Regions from separate parts of the Homo sapiens genome. Here region 1 is linked to region 2. The links are contacts of gene promoters, found by promoter capture Hi-C in human tissues and cell types (Jung and others, 2019). All regions are on one chromosome and are shown on one strand. Each heading gives the region's core, a stretch centred on a gene start or on the middle of the fragment in contact. The rest is flanking DNA. Distances are from core to core; before and after follow the strand shown. Region 1 overlaps XKR7 (XK related 7). Region 2 holds the start of CCM2L (CCM2 like scaffold protein).

Region 1 (5,099 bases), core at 1,418-3,917, 38 kb after region 2:
GTTTGAAAATGATGGAATCCAACCCCTGACCTGTTTTACAAATAACAATGTCTAATTATCATTGTTGAGAACTTCCTATGTTCCAGGCACTGTGCTGAACACTAAACATTATTTAATTTTCTACTACCTCAAGCACCATGCGATAGGTGCTATTATTAGAGTGTCCATTTAGCAGATGAGAAAATCAAGGCACAGACAAGTCATGCCACTTGCCCCAAATCACAGAAAGTGGCAGGTGCAGGATATGGCTGATTCCAGAGAGTGGATGCTGAACCATTAACTCTGGCCCCAGTGGAGAGACTGAGGACCAAAGAAGGAAAGAGGTCGCATTAGCTCAGCCTGAAGCAGACCCCCATCCCTGTTGCTACAGTTTGATCCAGTCTCCATTGTCTCTCTCCTGCATCTTTGTAGCAGCCTCCTCATGCATCTCCAGGCTTACTCTGCCTCCCTCCAGTCTATTCTCTCTCTTTTTTATGCTTTTTCTCTTGAGATGGAGTCTTGCTCTGTCACCCAGGCTGGAGTGCAGTGGCTCACTCTCGGCTCACTGCAACCTCCACCTGCCAGGTTCAAGCGATTCTCCTGCCTCCGCCTCCCGAGTAGCTGGGATTACAGGTGCGCACCACCATGCCCAGCTAATTTTTGTATTTTTAGTAGAGACCGGCTTTCACCATGTTGGCCAGGATGGTCTCGATCTCTTGACCTCGTGATCCGCCTGCCTCGGCCTCCCAAAGTGCTGGGATTACAAGCGTGAGCCACTGTGCCCGGCCCCTCCAGTCTATTCCCCACCCAGCAGCCAGAGTGGACATTGCAAAACACAAGTCAAGATCATGTTCCTTCTCTGGCCAAATTATCCTGGGCTCCCCGTGTCATGAAGAGTAAAAGCCCTAGTCCTTGCCATGGCCTCTGAGGCCCTGCATGACCTCGCCCCTGCCAATCTGTCCACCAGCATCTCCAAACATGCTCCCCTCACTCTATTTCTGCCACACAGGCCTTCTCCTTGCCCTTCCCTTTTCCTTTGCCTGCAAAACCCTCCCCAAGACCTCTACACAGCTTGTCCTCACCTCGTGCAGCCCTTTGCCCACATGCCACCTCCTTGGAGAGGTCCACCCTGACCACCCTATCTCAAAGAGCCACACCTCTCCCTGGCACTCCAGTAGCTCCCTGCCCTGTTTCATTTTTTTCCCCATAGCACTTATCACGATCTGGCCCAGGTATTATATATCCCATATAATATATATCATAGTTTATTTTCTTATTGGTTCCTTCATTAGGCTATTGAGCTCCAAGAGGGCAAGGACTTTGTCTTGTTCACCACTCTATTCCCAGCACTTAGAACAGTGCCTGGTATACAGCAGGTGCTTAATAAATGTCTGCTGAATGAATGACTGCAGATTAAATGAATGACTGCCATGTCATTATGGCTTCAAGGGACTTCAGGACCCCCTTGCTGTCCTGCCATGTGCTCCGTGAACAAAGCTTTGTTCCACAGGGAGCAAAGCCCAAGCTAATGCACTAATCATTGCCAGCAGTTTCTGAGCATTTAACGATGGAATGAGCCCTTTGCTGAACCCTTACACATTATCTCATTAAACCTTGAAACAACCTAAGAGGCGGGTGGGTACAATTTTGGTCCCTAGTTTACAACGGATGAGAGATTATTTGCCTTGTCAAGGTCACATATAAGAAGTAGTAAAGTCTGGATTTAAACTGAGGACACTTGAATCTAGAGTCCGTGCTCTCAACCCTCTCAACCGTTATGCCAAGAATGTAGTTTCCCAGAGGGGAAATCCAGAGCCTGACATTTCCTTCCAATAGGTCACTAACTCATTCCAGAACTTCTCTGTCATGCAGGGCTTCTTAGGTGACATAGAGTGCAGTGTCTGGGCCTATGCATAGAGAGGGCATTAGAGGGAGGGCCCCTAAATCCCAATTGCCTAATTTTCTCCCCATTTTGGGGTTCCCAGATCCCGAAAGCCTGGCAGGAATCCCATGTCAGATCGTCTCCCACTAATTGGCTTAGCAAACCATGCTTATCTGGGTGAAGCTGGGGCCCACTGAGCTCAAGATTAGGAAAAGCAGGATTCATGGCTTACTGCTCTGCTGCCTACAGGGTCAGAGGGGACAGGGTTAGGACTTTAATTAGCTTAAGAACCCTGGGCAGTTTAACAGCTCAGAGAGTTTAAAGGGAAGGGAGGGATGAAGTTGCAGGTTGGTGTCCAGGCCACAGCCAGCTTCGTGCCCCGCCAGAGGATCTGTTTGCTGTTCCCTCAGAGTTCAATCTCTCTGTGCACAAAGATATTGTTCTGGCATGTCCCAAAGTAGCCAGTGTGTGGTGTAAAAGATAGAGCTAGGTTTGGGACTGATCACCTTTCCTCACTTCCTCAGTGGGTGACTTTTGGACAAGGTTCCTTATCTGATAAATGGGTATATCAATAGTCACCAGGGGGGAGGGTTTCAGAGTAACATGAGATCACATGCCTGAAACACTCACACAGGGCCTGTGGGGACACGGTAGGTGTGCAGTGTCTGTGTATGCTTTCTCCTCCTCTCTCTCTTCAGAGCTTCATTTTATGTTTAAATTAGTAATAAAATCTTCTGTGTGAAAAGACCTTATCAATTTGAAGAGCTAAACCAGAGGTTACAAAGAAGACAGGCTAATAAATATGTTTCCTTTGGTTGACACTATTTTTAAACATTTTAATTAGTAGTTAAATTTTGGAGAGTTCACGGAAAAATCCCAATTTCCCATTTCTCTTGAGAAATCAAGACTGGGTCCACGATTTCTCATGGCATGATCAGCTGGAGCTTCCCTTTTCCTCGGACACTACTTGCCCCTGAATGTCCTCTTGTCTGACACCCCTTGTATCTTATGGTCTTATGGTCTGTTACCTGCCTGGGTCCTCAAAGCATTTGAATTTTTAATTCAGGATTTTACAAGTCTAAGAGGTTGAAAAATATCTTCATGATTATAATTATTTTATTCAGAATTGAGGAAATGGGATCAGGAGGTGAGTGACTGCCTAGCCTCCCAGGTGTGATTCTGGAGGACTCAATCACACATCTCCCTCTTCATTACCCCAGGCCCCACCACTCAGAACATCTGTGGGAACATCTCACGTGGTAAGCAAATGTGCTGGGCCAACATTGCTTAATTTCTAGGAATGCCAGCCCCTGCAGCTTCTCTATACCTTCTCTGGGTTTTCCCTCCATTTATCCAGGCCCTTAGCCATTTTAGAATCCAAAGATTTTGGGGGCAAGGGCCCAGAGGCTTTTGCTTTGGCAATAGACCCAGAGTCAGAATTTCAGGAATGGGAAACTCTTAAGGTCATCACATTGAATCTCATTTCACACACAGGGAAACCGAGACCCAAAGATGGAAAGAGCCTTGCCCAAGGTCACCCAGCAAACTATAGTTACAAACTAGGATAAAGATGTCAGCCTCCTGACCAGACCACCCCCGAATCCAGCCTTTTCCCCACAATACACACTGTTCCCGTCCTCACCCACATAGTTCAACTCCCTGCCCCTCTTTTCACATTCTTATCTCAGTGCAACAGAAGCCCTGACTTTCTATCATACTGGAATCTTGGAATCTCAGATTCATACTTCTTTAAGCTTGAGGGACACTTTAGTGGCAGAATTACAAGGTGGATAAATTGAACTCAGGCTTTAAAGGCAGAGAGCCTGGAGTCTCAGCTCTTCAAGTTCCTAGCTGTGTGACCTTGGACAAGGATGCCCCCTCTCTGAGCCTCCATTCCCTCATCTGTCAAGTAGAAATTATAATGCTAACCACATGACAGGATGATTAGAAGGGGTACAGGAAATAAAGCAGGTAAAAAGGCAACCAGTAGGCTTGGCACAAAGTCAGTGTTTAATAAAATAATTGTTATAGAACTGTAAATTAGGGCTTTCATGTCTAAGTGAAATAGTACAGATATGATCAAAGGGAAAGATGGACAAATTAGAGCACATAGACTCTTTCTAAATTGTTACAGGATTGATACTGCTAGATCCAATTTTTTTAAAGGGAAGCTACGACTCTGGGTTTTTAAAATACTATGCAAGCCACACAAAACACTTCCACAAGCCACATTCAACCTAAGAGCTATTAGATTGTTATCCCTACAAACTTATCTCATCCCAGCCTCCTCATTTTGCAAATGGGAGATAGTAGAAATAGCTAGTCCTTTTATCCATATCCAAGAAACCATAGAGCTGAGGGGATCCTTAGCAATTCTAGCTACTCCCCTGGGACCCCACACCCATGGCCATTTTTGCCCTATTTGAGGGAAACTCAGTTTATGCTTAACAAAGAAGAGAAGTATTAGTTTCTTGTAAGTGGATTCTGAATGGGGGGATAGCCAGTGAGTCGAGGGGCATCTGGCCCACTTTAGGCTGAAGGAAAAGGGGGATGAAGCTTCCTACCAAGAATAGGAAGTTACCATTTCAGAATCTAAAAATATCTTTCACCATCTGTCCACTCGGGCACAGAATGATAAATGCAGATTAGTTCCTGGATGTAGACATGAATATTTTTATGTGTCACGCTAATAATAATAACACCACCTTGTGTGGATAGAGCTCCGCCCCCTTTTCCTCCAGGATAAGCTAAGTGGAATATACACATCATCTTGGCAGGAATAGATAGGGAAACAAAGGCAGAGAGATTCGACAACACAACAAGAGTGACACAGCAAGTGAGCAGCTGGGACAAACCCTAGGAGTCCTGTTTTCAACCCTCAGCCCCAAACTGAATCTTCTGAGTTAGGCAGAATGTGTTAACAAGTAGCAGAATAAATATAACAACAGCAGTAATCACCCTTTATATCTCTAGAGTGACTTTTTCCATGCTTTCCCCACACTCTTAAAATGTTACAGTCTGCAGGGCCCTCATGCAGACCTCTCACCTGACCATCCCAACAGGTAAGAATAATGCAATGATAAGACAATGAGATAAGAGGAGTAGGGATTCTCCCTCATTTCACAGAAGAGGAAACTGAGGCTTGGAAGGAGGAGGGCGGCTTGCCTAAGATCATATAGTAAGCAAGTTCATTCTGTTAGAGCACAGAAGGGCCTAAGCTACTAAATAGCAATTCAGA
Region 2 (4,969 bases), core at 2,103-4,602:
CGCTCCCAGCCCTGGCTATCCTTTAGTACTACCTGGGGAAGGCCAGGCGTGGTGGTTTACGCCTGTAATCCTAGCACTTTGGGAGGCTGAGGCAGGAGGAGAGCTGGAGCCCAGGAGTTTGAGACCAGCCTTGACAACATGGTGAAACTGTCTCTACAAAAAATATGCCAAAAAAAAAAAATTAGCCGGGTGTGGTGGTATGTACCTGTAATCCCAGCTACTTGGGAGGCCAAGGTGGGAGGATCACCTGAGCCTGGGAGGTCGAGGCTGCTGTGAGCTGCGATTGCAACACCGTACTCCAGCCTGGGTGACAGAGTAAGACCTTGTCGAAGGAACAAAACAAACAACCCCCACCCCCCCACTCCACACACACACGAACTACGGGGGGAGCTTTTAAAACTTCAGATGTTCAGGTTACACTCCCAACCAACTGAATAAGAAATTCTGGGACTGAGACCCAGGCATAAAATTTTTTATTTTTTAATTTTTTTGAGATAGGATGTTGCTCTGTTGCCCAGATTGAAGTGCAGTGGCACAATCATAGCTCACTGCAGCCTTGATCTCTTAGGTTCAAGCGATCCCTCTGCCTCAGCCTTCCAAGTAATTGGGACTACAGGTGTGTGCTACCATGCCCTGCTAATTTTTTAAATTTTTAGTAGAGATGAGGTCTCACTGCGTTGCCTGGGCTGGCTTGAACTCCTGAGCTCAAATGATTCTCCTGCCTTGGCCTCCCAAAGTGCTGGGATTACAGGTGTGAGCCATTGGGGTTAATGAGCTCGGTCCATTAAGATTTTTTTAAGCCTTCTTAGGTAATTTCAAAAGGCAGCTCAGCTGAAAACCACTGAGTGAATGTGTGGTGTGATTACTTAACTGTGTAACAAGGCAAATGTGAGTAAGACAACCTCCCTGCCTGCAAGGAGCTCACGTTCTTTCCAGGTAAACAGAACACAAGTCCACAAATACATCTGTTCATTTACTCATTCATTCAGTAAACATTTACACCTGTATGGCTGGACTCTGCTGGGTGCTGAGGATTCAGTGGAGACCTGGATCCTATCCTTGCCTCCAGGGCTTGTGATAAATGACCTAGACTAGTGAGTTTCCAACTTTATCTGCCCTGGAGTTTTGATTCAGTACAGTTGGGTTGGAGCTTGAGACTGTGCATTTCTACCAAGCTCCCATCTGGTGCTGATACTACTGGTCTGTGCACCACGCTTTGAGTAGCCAGGATCTAAACCGGTGGTTCTCAAAGTGTGGCCCCACAGCCATCAGCATAACCTGTGGGTTATTAGAATTGCAAATTCTTTCTGACTCAGCGATCCTCCCACCTCTGCCTCACAGTAGCTAGGACCACAGGCATGCACCACCACCACACCTAGCTAATATATATTTTTTAAAGAGATGGGGTCTTACTATGTTGCCCAGTCTGGTCTTGAACTCCTAGGCTCATGCAATCCTCCTGCCTCAGCCTCCCAAAGTGTTGCGATTACAGGCGTGAGTCACTGTGCCTGGCCAGAAATGCAATTTCTTGAACCCCATCCCAGGCCTATTGGCCCAGAAACTGGGGGTAAGACCCAGTGATCTGTGTTTTAATGAGCCCTCAGGTGATTCTTATGGGTACTCAGCTTATGTTAGAACCCATATCATGGAGCCAGGATGGGGTATGTAGCAACTTTAAGGAATGAGAAGAAACTATCTGGGAGAAAGCATGCCAAGCAGAGGGCACAGCATGTGCAAAATTCTGGATGCCTCAAAGGCTGGATGAGGGTGAGCCTGGAGAAGCTGTGTGCAGTCAGTCTGCCGTGGCTAGATTATGAGACGAACATATCTTGAATGCCGGCTATGGAGCTGGGACTTTGTCTTGCGTATGTGTGTGTATTAGGGGTGGGGAGGGGTAAGTATTTTTGTTGGTGGCCCTGAATGGCTCAGCTCTGCCCACCTGTCCAGCCCCATCTGCCTCATTCTTGTCCCCTGGGCCCCCACTACACAGTCCTCCTTCAGTCCCTCTGGCTTGCTATGTGACTTCCCACTGTGGGGTTTTGCACATGCTGTTCCTCTGCCTCAAACACTCTTCCCTACCCACTTTCCTTCCACCCGTCAGTTCTCGACTCAAACTGATCAGTTTCCTCCAGCACTGAGTATGGGACCTCCTATGATTTTTAAAAAATTTTTATTTATGTATTTATTTATTTATTTTAGACAGAGTCTCACTCTGTCACCCAGGCTGGAGTGCAGTGGCGCGATCTTGGCTCACTGCAACCTCTGCCTCCTAGGTTCAAGCTTCAGCCTCCTTAGTAGCTGGGATTACAGGCATGTGCCACCATGCCCAGTTAATTTTTGTATTTTTAGTAGAGACAGGGTTTCGCCATGTTGGCCTGGCTGGTCTCGAACCCCTGACCTCAGGTGATCCACCCGCCTCGGCCTCCCAAAGTGCTAGAATTACAGGTGTGAGCCACTGCACCCGGCCCTTCTATGCAATTTTACATTAACTTATTTATTGCTTTAAAAAAAGAAATACCTGGTGCATAATAGGCACTCAATAAATGTCTATTAAAAGAACAAACTAAGAGAAAACATGCACGTATGTCTTGGCTCCCTTCTGAGCCCTCTGTGATTCATGTGGGCACCTTTTAGAACAGCCCGGACATATGTTTCTGGTGGGGGTGGGGTAGAGGGGAGGGTGGAAATGGGGGTAAGATGGAAGTTAAAATCAGAGCGCCTCCCTGAACTCCAAAGACAACCAGGTGAGACACCCAGAGAAGCATACTAGAAAACTTCAGAGTCAGAAGGGGTGAGGGGAATGGCTTCTGGCTGACGCCTTACATACGCCCTTGTAGAAAGGTGGGAGGGGCAGGGGGCAGGTGGGAGACTCAAGCCTGTGTAGGCAACATCCTATCGGAATTGCCCTGGCTGAGTCCTTCTGTTTGGGGCAGTGACGAGCAGGAGAATGGATCTGCTGGGTGTCTGTCTGTCCGTCTGTCTGAGAGGCTGCAGGAGGGAGCTGCGGGGAACACCAGGGAAGCAGGTGTGGAGAATCTCCCAAACTGAGTCCGTCTGGCCAGGTTTCCTGAGAAGGTCCCTGTCTGTCCACGTTAGGGATGCCAGAGGCCACTGAGAGTGGAGAAACAGGGAGTTTAGAGCCTGACTGTCTGGCTGTCCAAGAGTGGGAAGGAAGTTACTTCCAAATGAGAAGAAAGGCTCCACTTATGCCCCTCGCTACCGACCCCCCACCCCGCCCCAGTTTGCCCCCTTCCCCAGCTTTGGGGACATTCCTCTCCCTTCGTCCCTCCCAACCTCCCACCTACCTTCTTCCCTTTCTTGACTTCATATTCCATGGTGAAATGTCCCCTCTACTCCTGCCACCCTCCTGGCCATCCCTTCCACCCCCACATCCAGTTCCTTTGTTCTTTTTCCTGCCTGGTCGGAAACTCCACCAGCCCTGGAGTTCCTGCCCCTCCCATCTGATGGGGAGGGCAGGGGGTGTGGAGGACACAGCCTTGGGACCCTGCAGCTGAAGGGTGGAAGCCCAGGCAGAGCTGACCTGAGGAGGGAGGCTCAAGGCCTCTAGCCAGAAGGCGGGTTATTGGGGGAGCTTGGGAATTGGCCAAGGCTGGGAAAGGGCCCCCCACATTTGAAGTCCTGGTTTGGAAAATTCCAAGTTCCAGCCCTACTTCTGCCACTGACCTTGTTGTGTGACCTTGGCAAGGCAAGTCAGTTCCCCCTGTCACAGCCTGTTTCCCCCTCCTCTCTATAAGTTGGGAGTCAACACTGCCTCCCTCCCTAGGCTGCTGTGGTGAGAAATGAAAAGGTGGATGGAAAGTGCCTTATAGAGAGTATTGTAGCCAAGCAAGTTATGATTTTAAAAAATTAATCATTACTATTAAGGGAGGCAGTATGCGTGGGCTTTGAAGATAGGCTGCTTGAATTCGAATCCTGGCTTTGGCACTTACTAGGGTTATGACCTTTGGGAAGTCCCTTAACCACCAGTGCCTCAGTTTTCCCGTCTTTAAAATGAGCATAATACTAGTTTAACCTCATAGTGACCTTGCGGGGATTAAATGCACCTAGAAGAACTTCTGGCACATATTAAGTACTCAGTAAGGCTGGGCGTGGTGGCTCACACCTGTAATCCCAGCACTTTGAGAGGCTGAGGCAGGCAGATCACCTGAGGTGAGGAGTTCGAGACCAGCCTCGCCAACATGGTGAAACCTTGTCTCTACTAAAAATACAAAAATCAGCCGGGTGCGGTGGCACATGCCTGTAATCCCAGCTACTCTGGAGGCTGAGGCAGGAGAAGCGCTTGAACCTGGGTGGTGGAGGTTGCAGTGAGCTGAGATCCAGCCATTACACTCCAGCCTTGGTGACTGGCTGAGACTCCATCTCAAAAAAAAAAAAAAAAAAAAAAAAAACTGAAAAAAAATAAGTGCTCAGTAAACATTAACTGTTTACCTGCTTAGTGGTTGTCAAATTAAAGAACAAACAGAGGCTCTCTAAAATAAAAGATGTTTCACTTAGGAATTAAGCATTGCAGTGGGAATTACCCATATGCCATAGTAAGCGATGTGCATTTTCAGGGAGGTGGGGGGAAGACAAAGATTTTTAAAGGAAAAAAATAAGGATTACATTATTGTTTCTGAAATAATTATTCTTGATTGCAAAGATCAATAGCAAGGGTGATGCCAGTCTAAAGTTGGACAGGCAGTTGCTGGGCAGATGTCCTTGCGGAAGTATTTTTTGTGCAAGGTTTCAATGGCCTTTGTGCAAGGTTGTGATTTTTGTAGTCTTTTTTGTTATCAGTCTTGTTGTTATCTGTTTTGTTATCAGTCTTATTTGTTATGCAAGCATGAAAACCCTCTATGGCCTTCCCCAGCTCTATTTGTCAAGGTTTTCTTAACATTAGTGACTCCATTTTTATTCTGACCATGTTCATAGGGTCTTGAGCTGTTTTGCTCTCTTGGGAGTATATTAG

What was found. The method cuts DNA at HindIII sites, captures the fragments that hold promoters and counts their contacts. A contact is called where the count stands out against the background at its distance.
Region 1: a fragment that was not itself captured here is called in contact with the fragment with the promoter of CCM2L in region 2 in 11 of the 25 tissues and cell types used here (IMR-90 fibroblasts, bladder, lymphoblastoid cells and 8 more).

The regions. Positions count from the first base shown.
Region 1 is chr20:31,969,581-31,974,679 of GRCh38, reverse strand. All of the region lies in intron 1 of XKR7 (XK related 7), which reads right to left. Among named protein-coding and RNA genes, the nearest start is that of XKR7, 4.0 kb to the right of the region's middle. RefSeq lists enhancers at 1,603-2,102, 2,103-2,604 and a silencer at 2,220-2,514. The HindIII fragment of the contact is 4,685 bases long and covers 325-5,009 here.
Region 2 is chr20:32,008,821-32,013,789 of GRCh38, reverse strand. It overlaps CCM2L (CCM2 like scaffold protein), which reads right to left and starts at 3,352. Exons shown (of 10, transcript NM_001365692.1): 1 at 3,306-3,352. The coding sequence starts at 3,335. RefSeq lists enhancers at 1,501-2,092, 3,003-3,530. The HindIII fragment of the contact is 15,048 bases long and covers 1-4,969 here.